Linked DNA regions of Homo sapiens: region 2 is linked to region 1. Evidence: promoter capture Hi-C in human tissues and cell types (Jung and others, 2019). All regions are on one chromosome and are shown on one strand. Each heading gives the region's core, a stretch centred on a gene start or on the middle of the fragment in contact. The rest is flanking DNA. Distances are from core to core; before and after follow the strand shown.

Region 1 (6,400 bases), core at 1,469-3,968:
ATGACGTGAACATACTTCACCTCTGTGGCATTCTTTCCCCAAACCCATAACCTCAGTCTAATCATGAAAAAAACAAGATAAACCCAATTTGTAGAGGATTCTACAAAAATATCTGACCAGTGCTTTTCAAAACCGTCAAGATGGTAAAATGAAGGAAACGACTGGGAAATTGTCATGGATTGTTGGCAACTATGGAAACAGGATGAATAAATATAATGTTGGATCGCGGGATAGTAAAAGGACATTAGCAAAGGGCCGGGCGTGGTGGTTCACACCTGTAATCCCAGTACTTTGAGAGGCCCAGGTGGGTGCATCACTTGAGGTCTGGAGCTCAAGATCAGCCTGGCCAACATGGAGAAACCCTGTCTCTACTAAAAAAATACAAAAATTAGCTGGTCGTGGTGGTGTGCACCTGTAGTCCCAGCTACTAGGTAGGCTGAGGCAGGGGAATTGCTTGATCCTGGGAGGCGGAGGTTGCAGTGAGCCGAGATCACACCACTGCACTCCAGCCTGGGCTACAGAGCCAGCCTCCGTCAAAAAAAAACCCAGAACATTAGTAGAAAAAACAGTGAAATCTGAATAAAGTCTGTAGTTTAGTTAGTCATGCACCAATGTTAATTTCGTAATATGACATGGTGATGTAAGATGTTATCATTAAGGGAGACTGAATGAGGGACTGTATTATTTTACAACTTTTCTATAAATCTGAAAATATTCCCAAATATAAATTTGTAAAAAATGAAGAGGAAACTTACAGGTTTTTAAAATACCGAAAGAAACATAACCATTTTAAATGTAATGCGTAGACCAATGTCTAGATCCAAACTAAAACAAACTATAAAAACAAACAAACAAACAAAATGCCTGTTTGAGACAATCAGACTGAAGGTTAGATGACAAAGAATTGCTAATTTTGTTGGATGTGATAATAATATTGTTACATTTTAAAATCCTCATCTGTTAGAGGAAAATGTTGAGGAACTCCCAGATGAAATGTTATGATGTTTGGATTTTGCTTTAAAATACTCCCACAAAACAAGGGAAGGGAGGTGATAGATGAAACAAGATTAGCATAGAGCTGATGATTGCTGAAGTCGGGTGATGAGTACATAGAATTCATGGCAATGTTCTCTCTACATTTATTGGTATTTGAAAATTTCCATACTAAGAAGCTAAAAGAACAGAACGAAAACAAAAACAGACACACACACATATGTAAGCAAGATACCAAGGCTGCCAGTTTGAAGCCACTGAAGAAAACAAGAAATTTACCCTGAGAATGCATAATTAATAAGAGCTCAGAGTAACTGACAATTTTCAGGTAAATTTCCTTTCTTCTTATTAATAAATATTCACTGGTGCTAGATCAGAAGCCAATAATTAAGTAAAAGTCAAAAGGAAAATAGAATTCCATCAACTACGTTCTAATTATAAAGAAAAATCCCTTCAGGGATGGTATCTGACTCAGTGAAGCGTGCCTGTGATTTTGGTGGACGAGAACTAGAACTGAACGGTGCTTCAAAACGTATTTTTCTTTCAAAGGTCTCAAAAGCTGTATGACAAATCCGTGAAGAAACAGCATATAAGGTACCTCGACTCCGGCGGCAGCTAAAACCCATCTCACGGACTCCATCCGGCCTCTTCCGTTGGGATAGTGGAGCTTGGGCCTTGCTGCCATGATAGCTTTTCAGGCTTTCTGAAATACAAATGCAGCAGCTCGTCGCAGACCAACAGTCCCAATTTCGCGTCTTCAACCCAGTGCTCAGGGGCGAAATGAATATTCAGGATTTTGGCACGGGAAACTGTTCTTTATTTTTGTTGCTGCATTTTCCCTCACTCAAGAAAAAAAAACCACCATTTTAAAACATGGAGAAAAAAACCTTGGCTTTTATATGATTTCTATTTATGACTTCTTATCCTGGATCTTGGGAAGCTGGGGCCATTTGTTGTAAAAACATATGTGCTAGCAGTACGGGATTTCACAAATTCAGAATATTATATATTTTGACCTCGAGAATCTCAGATTTTCCAAATTCAGCTGGGGGATAGGGGGTGGCAGGCGTTGAAGAGGGTAGCGAAGGAAAATCGCACAGCCACTGGAAGCTCTTCAAGTATTCATGCTTTTACATACATCATCATATTTTATTATCACGGCAACTGGAAGGTGAACAGGCCGAGTACTACTACTGTCTGCAAAATGTGCGTCCACCGTCACGCATGCGGTGGCTGCGCCCCCCGGGTCCCGCGTGTCCACCACCCCTACAGGGAGATGAGCCCCCGGCCTTGTAAAACGAGCCGGGGGCCAGGGCTTGGCCATCTGAGATCGCACTCTCCCATGCTCGTCTTCCCCGCTCAGCCCATGCAGGGGCGTAGCGGCAGCCCAGCCAGGCCCGGGGACGATCCGAGCCCACCTTCCACCAATGCATTCAGACTCCGCAGAAGGGGTTTAAAAAAAAATACGCACACTGAGCCAAGAAGGACCCCAGCTCCAGCCAAGGGGCCCACCTCTGCCCAGACTGGATGGAGCAGGAGGACAAAGGACAAGAGGAAGAAAAGACAAGAGAAGGACTGAACTGGGGGAGTGAGGGAAGAATGCGAGAGTGAGACTCAGAGAGTAAAGGGGAGGGAAAAAAAAGAAGAGAGAAAGGGCGAGGAAGGGGGCGACCGCAGGAGGGAGACAGACCTGGAGTCCACTCGGAGGCCTGGAGCCGCACAAAGCGCCAGGTCAGCGGTCCCGGCTGGGTGAGACCAGCAGGCGGCTCTAGCGCGCGGGAGCTGGGCGAGGCTCCGGGACGACCTCACCAATGGAGACTGCAGTATTTAGCATGCCCCACCCATCTGCAAGGCATTCTGGATAGTGTCAAAACAGCCGGAAATCAAGTCCGTTTATCTCAAACTTTAGCATTTTGGGAATAAATGATATTTGCTATGCTGGTTAAATTAGATTTTAGTTAAATTTCCTGCTGAAGCTCTAGTACGATAAGCAACTTGACCTAAGTGTAAAGTTGAGACTTCCTTCAGGTTTATATAGCTTGTGCGCCGCTTGGGTACCTCGGATGTGAGGGCGATCTGGCTGCGACATCTGTCACCCCATTGATCGCCAGGGTTGATTCGGCTGATCTGGCTGGCTAGGCGGGTGTCCCCTTCCTCCCTCACCGCTCCATGTGCGTCCCTCCCGAAGCTGCGCGCTCGGTCGAAGAGGACGACCATCCCCGATAGAGGAGGACCGGTCTTCGGTCAAGGGTATACGAGTAGCTGCGCTCCCCTGCTAGAACCTCCAAACAAGCTCTCAAGGTCCATTTGTAGGAGAACGTAGGGTAGTCAAGCTTCCAAGACTCCAGACACATCCAAATGAGGCGCTGCATGTGGCAGTCTGCCTTTCTTTTGACCCATTACCCATCTAAGTTAGATGCTTTTTTAAATGTTTTTTAATTTTTAAATTTTTAATTTTTTTCATTATTTATTTTTTATTTTTGAGACGGATCTCGGCTCACTGTAACCTCCACCTCCCGGGTTCAAGCGATTCTCCTGACTCAGCCTCCCGAGTAGCTGGGATTACAGGCGCGCGCCACCATGCCCGGCTAATTTTTCTATTTTTAGTAAAGACGGGGTTTCGCCATGTTGACCAGGGTGGTCTTGAACTCCTGACGTCAGGTGATCCTCCTGCCTCGTGCTGGGATTGCAGGCGTGAGCCACCGCTCCCGGCCCTTAGATGCTTTTTAATCAGCAAGTACGCAATGCTTTCCTGACAGGAATGTCAAGTCCGTCAGGAAATCCACATAAGGGTGTTAAGCAGGCAAAGTACCACATACAGATTAAAATCAAAAGCACTGTCAACGCTTATTTAATTTATACAGTAGACCCTAACTTTTCTAATTTTGTGTATACATATATATACATGTATACATGTATACAAACATACATATTTTCTTCTTTCTTTCTTCATCTCAGTGGGACATCTTGAGATTTCTCTTCATTTTGTACATTTTAGAGACAAGTGCTCTATAGTCACGGTCTCAAGTCAGCACCTGTTTGGAAGGGGGTCTTTGGAGTTGGGGGTGGTGCTAAAAGAATAATTTGGCTGGCAAGTTAGTTAAAACATTAAAAATATATTAAAACTATCAGGGCTATATTATGGAACAATTGCAAAATTCACATGGATTTCAAAGTTTGAAATATATGCCTTCGAAAATAAATTTTGTTTTTAGAGGCAGCTTCTGCTATTTCTCAGGCTATAGATGTTGTTATTTTCTTCACCCACGGGGGCGCTCGAGAGTACCTTGCTTGACAAGCCTGGGTGCTGAACAATTGCAGCCGCTAACATGATCAGATTTTATTTTCAATAGGTTTCTCTGGCCAAAGTGAGGCGAATGAATTGGGGTAGTAGGGGTAGAGAAAGAAACCTCTTGTGTCTGTGTAAATTAAAGTAGCACCATGAGTTTGAAGAATATGAGTAAGAAAAGGTGAAATACTAAGGAGGTAGGTGGTAAAGCAATTGCTAATCAGATCAAAGGGAAGGGAGGAGGAAGAAAAGTCTAGAATGATGCCCTGTCCAACACACACACACACACACACACACACACACACACACACACACACACACACACACACTTCTTGTCTTTTTTTTAATAACATGTATTGTCATCTAACAGGACTTTTTTATTTATTTGTCTGTAGATTCCTAGAATGTAAATTCCACGAGATCGAGGATTTTTGCGCTTTTGGTTTTCCTTTTGTACATCCTGGTTAGTATAGAGTAGGTATTCAGAGAACACTTGTTGAATGAATGAATGAGCAATGCTTTGGTTTCTAGTTCCATAAAGAGCGGAGAAGGAAGACAAAGTTTGGGGAAAATGGGTTGACTTGTCTTTTGTTGCTATGAACCATCCAGCTGGAAATACCCACTAGACAGTTGAAAAAGCCATTGAGGGCTGGGCGCAGTGGCTCACGCCTGTAATCCCAGCACTTTGAGAGGCTGAGGCGGGCGGATCACCTGAGGTCAGGAGTTCAAGACCAGCGTGGCCAACATGGTGAAACCCTGTTTCCACTAAAAATACAAAATTAGTCGGGCGTGGTGGCCTGTTCCTGTAGTCCCAGCTATTCAGGAGGCTGAGGCGGGAGAATCGCTTGAACCTGGAAGGCGGAGGTTGCAGTGAGCCGTGATCACGCCCCTGCAGTACAAGCTGGGCGAGAAAGTAAGACTCCCTATAAAAAAAAAACCGAAAAGACAAAAACCAACCCAGTGAGGACTCAGTAGAGAGAACTGAAATCGGTTGAATTGGTGGCAAAAGAATGAGCTCATCCAGAGAAGGTATGCAGGGTAAGAAGAGAGGTAAGTCAAGGACCACTGGGCACCCCAAAAGTCAGAAAAGTCGTTTTCAAAAAAGACTTAACAGTGTATATCCAATCATATTTCTAGTTCTGATTTAACAGCAATTACTCAGTTTAACATGAGTAGGAAGCCATATTTTCCAGCCTTGCTGAAAGTGGTCATTCTTTTTTTCTTGCTTTTAGTTTATAATTAAGGAAGGTTTATTGAACATCTGTGCTGAGGTCTACTGGATTTACTGAGACATAAAAAATAAATTATAAAATCCAGTTCTTGCCCTCAAGGAGCTTATTTTTTAATTGACAAATAAAATTGTATATTTTTACTGTGTACAACATGATATTTTAAAGTACAGTCATCCCTCAGTATCTGTGGGGGATTGGTTTCAGAACCCCCTCAGCTACCAAAATCAGACCATGCTCCAGTCCCTTATATAAAACGGTGTAGTATTTGCATGTAACTTAACACACATCCTTTGGTTTACTTTAAATCATCTCTAGATTTTTTATGTTAACCTAAATAACAAACAGAAAGAGGCTCTTTAAAAATATTTATTTGGAAATTGAATTTTGCAATAGGAATATGCATGCCATAGTAAATTATGTGTGTATTCAGGGAGGTAAAATAAAACAAAGATTTTTAAAGGACAAAAATGACGATGGCATAATTGTTTTAAAATAAGTATCCTTTGCTGCAAAGATGAATAACAAGGGCAATAATCCCAGTATTTTTTTGTGTAAGACTGCAATGGCCATTGTGGAAGGTTGTGGTTCTTATAGTCTTTTGTGATCGTGTGTTGTTGTTGTTGTTGTTGTTGTTGTTGTTTGTTTGTCTTTTGGAGACAGGGTCTTGCTGTATTGCCCAGGCTGGAATGCAATGGTGCGATCAGGGCTCACTACAGCTTCGAGGCTCAAGTGATCCTCCCACCTCAGCCTCCTGAGTAGCTGAGACTACAGGCGCATGACACTACTGGCTAATTTTTAGTTTTTGTAGAGAAGGGGTCTAACTATGCTGCCCAGGCTGGTCTCAAACTCCTAGGCTCAAGTGATCCTCCCACCTCTGCCTCTTAAA
Region 2 (6,400 bases), core at 2,467-4,966, 480 kb after region 1:
CGGGGTTCAGAGAGGGGCAGCTCAAGCACTCCCTTGGATACCCTGGCTGGTGTCTCACTACGTTACATGCTCCGCAAATCCACTGGCTCTGAGCCTATCATAGCACCTTGACTTGCCCAGGAATTGCAGTTCTTGTGGCCTAGGCTGTTTTTCAGGTTTATTTAGAACCCCAGAGCATTTTAACTCACAGCATCAAGGCTTGCTGGAACTCAGGTTTCGACTGCTAGGATGGCTGATTCTCCTCTGGCTAAGGCTAGTCTAGATGCTCCCTCCATGGGCACTGGCTGAGTTCTGCCTGGTGTTGCTTTCTGCTGTGACAGGGCAGCACTGGGTGCCTCTTTCAGTTATACGAAGTTCAACCCAGGTACTGTAATCTCTCACCTAAATTTTGGTTCTTATGAAGGTGTTTTTATGTGGATATGTGTTCAATTTGGTGTCCCTGTGGAGAGGACAATTGGTGGCAGCTTCTATCCAGCCATCTTGCTCTACCTCCCTTCAATCATTTCTGAGTGACCAATCAACTGGGGGCTCAGAATAGGAGAAATAGGTAAGTCTGTAATTAGTATCCCAAACGGTGAATAGACTTTAAATAGGAAGAGGACTGTTTAAGTCAGTAATCAATAAGTTTCAGCTTTTCCTGATTGTGTTAGTTTCCTGGATTGGCTGTAATGAAGTATAATATAATAAGCTGGGCAATTTAAAACAACAGAAATTTATTCTCTCACAGTGCCAGCAGCTAGAAGTCCAAAATCAAGGTGTCAGCAGGGCCATGCTCCCTCTGAAGGCTCTATGGAAAAATTATTTCTTGCTTCTTCTAGTTTCTGGTGGTTGCTGGCAATCCTTGGCGTTCCTGGATTTGCAGCAGTGTAACTCCAATCTCTGCCTCCATCTTCACACGGCCTTTGTCCCTGTGTGTCTGTGTGTCTCCAAATATCTCTTTTTATAAGGACATTGATCAGTGGATTTAGGGCCCACCATGATCCAATAAGACCTCATCTTGACTTGATTACATCTGCAAAAGCCTTTTTCCAAATAAGGTCAAGTTCACAGGTACTGGGGGTTAGGACTTCAACATGTCTTTTGTGGGGATACAATTCAACCAACAACACTGATTGACATTAATGGTGTGCCAAGAGGATTGGTGAAGGTGGCAGCAAGGAGACACACTGTCTGTGGAAAATTTAAAAGCAATAATAAAACCAACTGAAAAATCAGTCTTTGTTATTAACACCATGCTCCCAGAATTCTAAACAATATTGACAGTCAAATACTCCTATCAGGGCCCTCCCACCTGGCCTGTACAGGGATGTTTGTGTTTGTACACCATTTACATGAGTTTTCTAGAGCTGCCATAACAAAGCACCACAGATTGGGTGGCTTAAACAATAGAAATTTATTTGCTCACAATTCTGGAGACAAGGAACCCTAGATCAAAGTGTCAGCTGGATTGGTTTCTCCCAAGGCCTCTCTCCTTGGCTTGTAGATGGCCATCTTCTCCCTGTGGTTTCACATAATCTTTCTTCTCTGTGAGTCTGTGTTCAAATTTCTTATTCTTATAAAGACACCAATCATGTTGTATTAGGGCCCACTCTGATGGCCTCATTTTTAACTTAGTTACCACTTTAAATTCCTTATCTCCAAAGAAAGTCACATTCTGAGATACTGGGAGTTAAGAGAGTTCAAAAATGAATTTTGAGGGAGACACAGTTCAGTCCATAACATTCTTGAACCCATCTATAAAGTATTTTAGGTATGATTACAGTAGAAACAAAAATCCTACATTTTCCAGAAAATACATTCTCCTATTCACTAGCATTCTGTTACCATACATATTACTGCAGCATTCACAAATGGGTTCCTAGGAAACACAGTTTCATGGGATGTTTTTAAAAGACACTGCTTGATAAAAGTGGTCCATGGTCAAATAAGTTTGGGAAACAAAAAAAAAAGAGCAGGTTTTCTCAAACTTGGCTTACCTGGTAACACCTTTTAGAAAGGTGCTCTGTAGAACAAAGTTGAAAGAAGCTGGCTTATGGCAAATTTTAAGACTATAAAAATTGTAGTGGTATTGTTAGGAGCACATATATATATAAAATTGCCCTTAATGGCGTGAACCCGGGAGGTGGAGCTTGCAGTGAGCCGAGATCGCGCCACTGCACTCCAGCCTGGGCAACAGAGCGAGACTCCATCTCAAACAAACAAACAAACAAACAAACAAAAAATAATGCCATTAGTCACTGAAAAGTTATAATAATACTCTTGTATATGTATTTTACTACCACAGAGCAACAAAAAGCTAGTAACTAAAAACTTGGTAATGTTATTATTTTTTATTTTTAATTTATTTTTATATATTTTTTCCTCAATCTCACATCATTGACATGTAGTAATATTTTAAGGCTATCTTTTATGACTGGAGTCTAGAACACAAACAAACATAAATTTGAGAATTGAAGAAGAGTTAATTGATGTTAACCCTAATGTCCATTAGTTGAGAGCCATTGGCTAACAGATCTGGCATGAGATTGAAAGTAAAGACAGCATCTTCCATGGAGGCCTTGCAGTGTTCCTAGATCCACTTTACGTAAAAGAATGAAAATGACAGAAAAGTATAAAGAAACAATTAAAACCATCCAAAATCTGACCAGCTAAAGGAAATCACTGTGCATATTTCAAATTGCTTCCATTCTTTTTAGTATGCTTACTTGTATTTGTTGCATAGTTGTTATTTTATTGCATATCAGGCTCCATGATCTGTGTCATGTACTAAAACCACATGATGATTATTTTATCATGTCATTAAAAATTATTCATAAATACCTTTTCTAGCAGTTGCAAATGCTACATACCATTCATTCCAAAACATAACATTTATAACTGTTTCTGTATCAGTAGACTTACTTTGGGTTGTCTAATTTTTTAAAATTATAAGTAGCACTATGAAGAGATATTGTTATACTGATATACATGAATATATATATATAATATGCACTTTGCATTTCTGATCATCTTCTTATGATAGATTCCTAGAAATAGACTATCTCAGTAAAAATATGAATATTTTAAAGCTCTTAGGTTAGTGTTATCGAAGTGTGGGAAAGTGCCCATTTTGCTTTATCTCTGCCAGTGTTGTGTATTATACTCTTAAAAAAACCCGACTCTACCAATTTTGTTAGCAAAAATTAATTCCATTTCCCGTTTCATTTCCTTGATTACAAGTAGGTTTGTTTATTTTTCTATTCATTCATTAGCTTTCCCTTTTTCTTTTCTTTTCTTTTTTTTTTTTTCAGATGAATTCTTTCTCTGTCGCCCAGGCTGGAGTGCAGTGGTGCAATCTCAGCTCGCTGCAACCTCCGCTTCCCAAGTTCAAGCAATTCTCCTGCCTCAGCCTCCCAAGTAGCTGGGATTACAGACACGTGCCACCACATCCAGCTGATTTTTGTATTTTTAGTAGAGGCGGGGTTTCACTATGTTGGCCAGGATGCTCTCAATCTCATGACCTCAGGTGATCCACCCGCCTTGGCCTCCCAAAGTGCTGGGATTACTGGCGTGAGCCACCATGCCCGGCCTAGCCTTCCCTTTTTTCTTAATTTTTATTTTTAAAATTTTAATTGTGGTTAAAATACATATAGCATAAAATTTACCAGTTAACCATTTTTTAAGTGTACAGTTCTGTAGTTAAGTAAATCCATGTTCAACCAATCTCCAGAACCCATTTCATCTTGCAAATTGAAACTATACATTCATTAAACAACAATATCCCATTCCCTCTCCTTATAGTTCCCAGCAATCATGATTTACCTTCTGTCTCTGAATTTGACTACTCTAAACACCCCATATGATTAGAAAAATACAATACTTGTCCTTTTGTGACTGGTTTATTGAACTTAGCATGTCCTCAAGGTCCATTTATGTTGTAGCATGTGTCAGAATTTCCTTTTTTTAAAGGCTAAATATTTTATTGCATGTATATACCAACCACATTTTCCCACCTTTGGTTTTGTTAAATCTTTATTTGTTTTTATTTTGTTAACCTTTATTTTCAGTCCAGGGGTACACGTGCAGGTTTGTTACTTAGGTAAATTGTGTGTCACAGGGGTTTGGTGTACAGAGTATTTTGCCACCTAGGTAATAAGCATAGTACCTGATAGGCAGGTAGCTTCTCAATCCTCACCCTCCTCCCACCCTTCACCCTCAAGTAGGTGCTGGTGTCTGTTGTTTACTTCTTTATGTCCTTGTGTACTCAATGCTTAGCTTCCACTTATAAGTGAGAAGATGTGGTGTTTGGTTTTCTGTTTCTGCACTAGTTTGCTCAGGATAATGGCCCCCAACTCCATCCCTGTTGCTGCAGAGGACATGATCTTGTTCTTTTCCATGGCTGTGTGGTATTCCATAATGTATATGTACCATATTTTCTTCATCCAACCTACCATTGATGGGCATTTAGGTTGGTTCCATGTCTTTGCTATTGTAAATAGTGCTGCAATGAACATACACACGCACGTGTCTTTATCCTAGAATGATTTTTATTCCTTTGTGTATATACCCAATAATGGGATTGCTGGGTTGAATGGTAGTTCTAAATTCTTTGAGAATCACCAAGCTGCCTTCCACAAGGCTGAACTAATTTACTTTCCCATCAGCAGTGTGTAAGAATTCCCTTTTCTCCACAACCTTGGCAGCATCTGTTGTTTTTTGACTTTTTAATGACAGCCATTCTGACTGGTGTGAAATGTATATGTCACATTTCGTTTAAGTCTGCATTAAATCTGTAGATCACTTTCAGTAGTACTCAATCATAACGGTATTAAGTTTTCCAATCCATTAACACAAGACGGCTTTTCAAGCTTTCCCTTTTTTGTGAATTTTTTTTCATATCCTTTGCCTTTTCTAGGCAGTCTTAATATCTTTAATTGTCAATGTTTACCAACTCTTTATATATTAAGGACATTCACCTTTTGTTATATTGTGTCACATATTTTCCCCAGCTAGCTATTCAGCTTTCCATTTTAATTTTTTTTGGGGGTGGGTGGGGGCGGGTCGAATCTCACTCTGTGGCCCGGGCTGGAGTGCAGTGGCATGATCTCGGCTCACTGTGACCTCCACCTCCTGGGTTCAAGTGATTCTCTGCCTCAGCCTCCTGAGTAGCTGGGATTACAGGCACTCGCCACCACATCCAGCTAATTTTTGTATTTTTAGTAGAGACGGGGTTTCACCACGTTGGCCAGGCTGGTCTTGAACTCCTGACCTCAAGTGATCCTCCTGCTTCGACCTCTCAAAGTGCTGGGATTACAGGCATGAGCCATCGTGCCCGGCTTAGCTTTCCATTTTCTTGATGATGTTTTGCTATGAGTTTTATATCAACTTAAAGTTTACAGTAGTCTTTTGAATTTTTTTTAAGGATAATTTTTTAAAACTGCACTCAGCTAGAAAAATAGCTAGCATTTATTGAGTGCTTACTATTCTATAAGCACTATCTTAAATGCTTGACTTGTACTAGTTCTTTTATCCTCACAACTCTGTAAGTGCTATTATTACCATCCCTACTTTGCATACGAAGAAACTAAGGCATAAGCAGGTTAGGTAACTTCCCCAAGGTCACATAGTTAAAGTCAAGCAATCAGATGCCAGAGACCTTGTTCCTTGAGCTCTATGTTCTACTGCCTCCTGTCCTTATTTGTGCCTTTTTCTCTCTATTCATGATCAATCATTTTATATGTTTATCAGGGAAAATGACTAAGAAGCAGGGAGTCTTTTTTTACTATACTTTAAGTTCTGGGGTACATGTGCAGAACGTGCAGGTTTGTTACATAGGTATACACGTGCCATGGTAGTTTGCTGCACCCATCAACCCATCACCTACATTAGGTATTTCTCCTAATACTATCCCTCCCCTGGTCCGCCCAACCCCTGACAGGCCCCAGTGTGTGATGTTCCCCTCCCTGTGTCCATGTATTCTCATTGTTCAGCTCCCACTTATGAGTGAGAACATGTGGTGTTTGGTTTTCTGTTCTTGTGTTAGTTTGCTGAGAATGATGGTTTCCAGCTTTATCCATGTCCCTGCAAAGGACATGAACTCATCCTTTTTATGGTTGCATAGTATTCCATGGTGTATATGTGCCACATTTTCTTTATCCAGTCTATCGTTGATGGGCATTTGGGTTTGTTCCATGTCTTTGCTATTGTGAATAGTGCCGCAATAAACATGTGTGCATGTGTCTTTATAGTAGAATGATTTATAATCCTTGGGGTATATACCCAGTAATGGGATCGCTGGGTCAAATGGTATTTCTCGTTCTAGATCCTTGAGGAATCGCCACACTGTCTTCCACATGGTTGAACTAATTTACACCCCCACCAACAGTGTAAAAGCAGTCCTATTTCTCCATATCCTCTCCAG

What was found. The method cuts DNA at HindIII sites, captures the fragments that hold promoters and counts their contacts. A contact is called where the count stands out against the background at its distance.
Region 2: a fragment that was not itself captured here is called in contact with the fragment with the promoter of GSTA4 in region 1 in 1 of the 25 tissues and cell types used here (dorsolateral prefrontal cortex).

Annotation. Positions count from the first base shown.
Region 1 is chr6:52,992,566-52,998,965 of GRCh38, forward strand. It overlaps GSTA4 (glutathione S-transferase alpha 4), which reads right to left and starts at 2,719. Exons shown (of 7, transcript NM_001512.4): 1 at 2,684-2,719; 2 at 1,592-1,696. The coding sequence starts at 1,678. RN7SK (RNA component of 7SK nuclear ribonucleoprotein) reads left to right here and starts at 3,055; the gene lies at 3,055-3,386. RefSeq lists silencers at 2,640-2,871, 3,203-3,292 and an enhancer at 2,823-3,042. The HindIII fragment of the contact is 14,338 bases long and covers 1-6,400 here.
Region 2 is chr6:53,474,491-53,480,890 of GRCh38, forward strand. All of the region lies in intron 3 of GCLC-AS1 (GCLC antisense RNA 1), which reads left to right. Among named protein-coding and RNA genes, the nearest start is that of GCLC-AS1, 46 kb to the left of the region's middle. The HindIII fragment of the contact is 6,838 bases long and covers 298-6,400 here.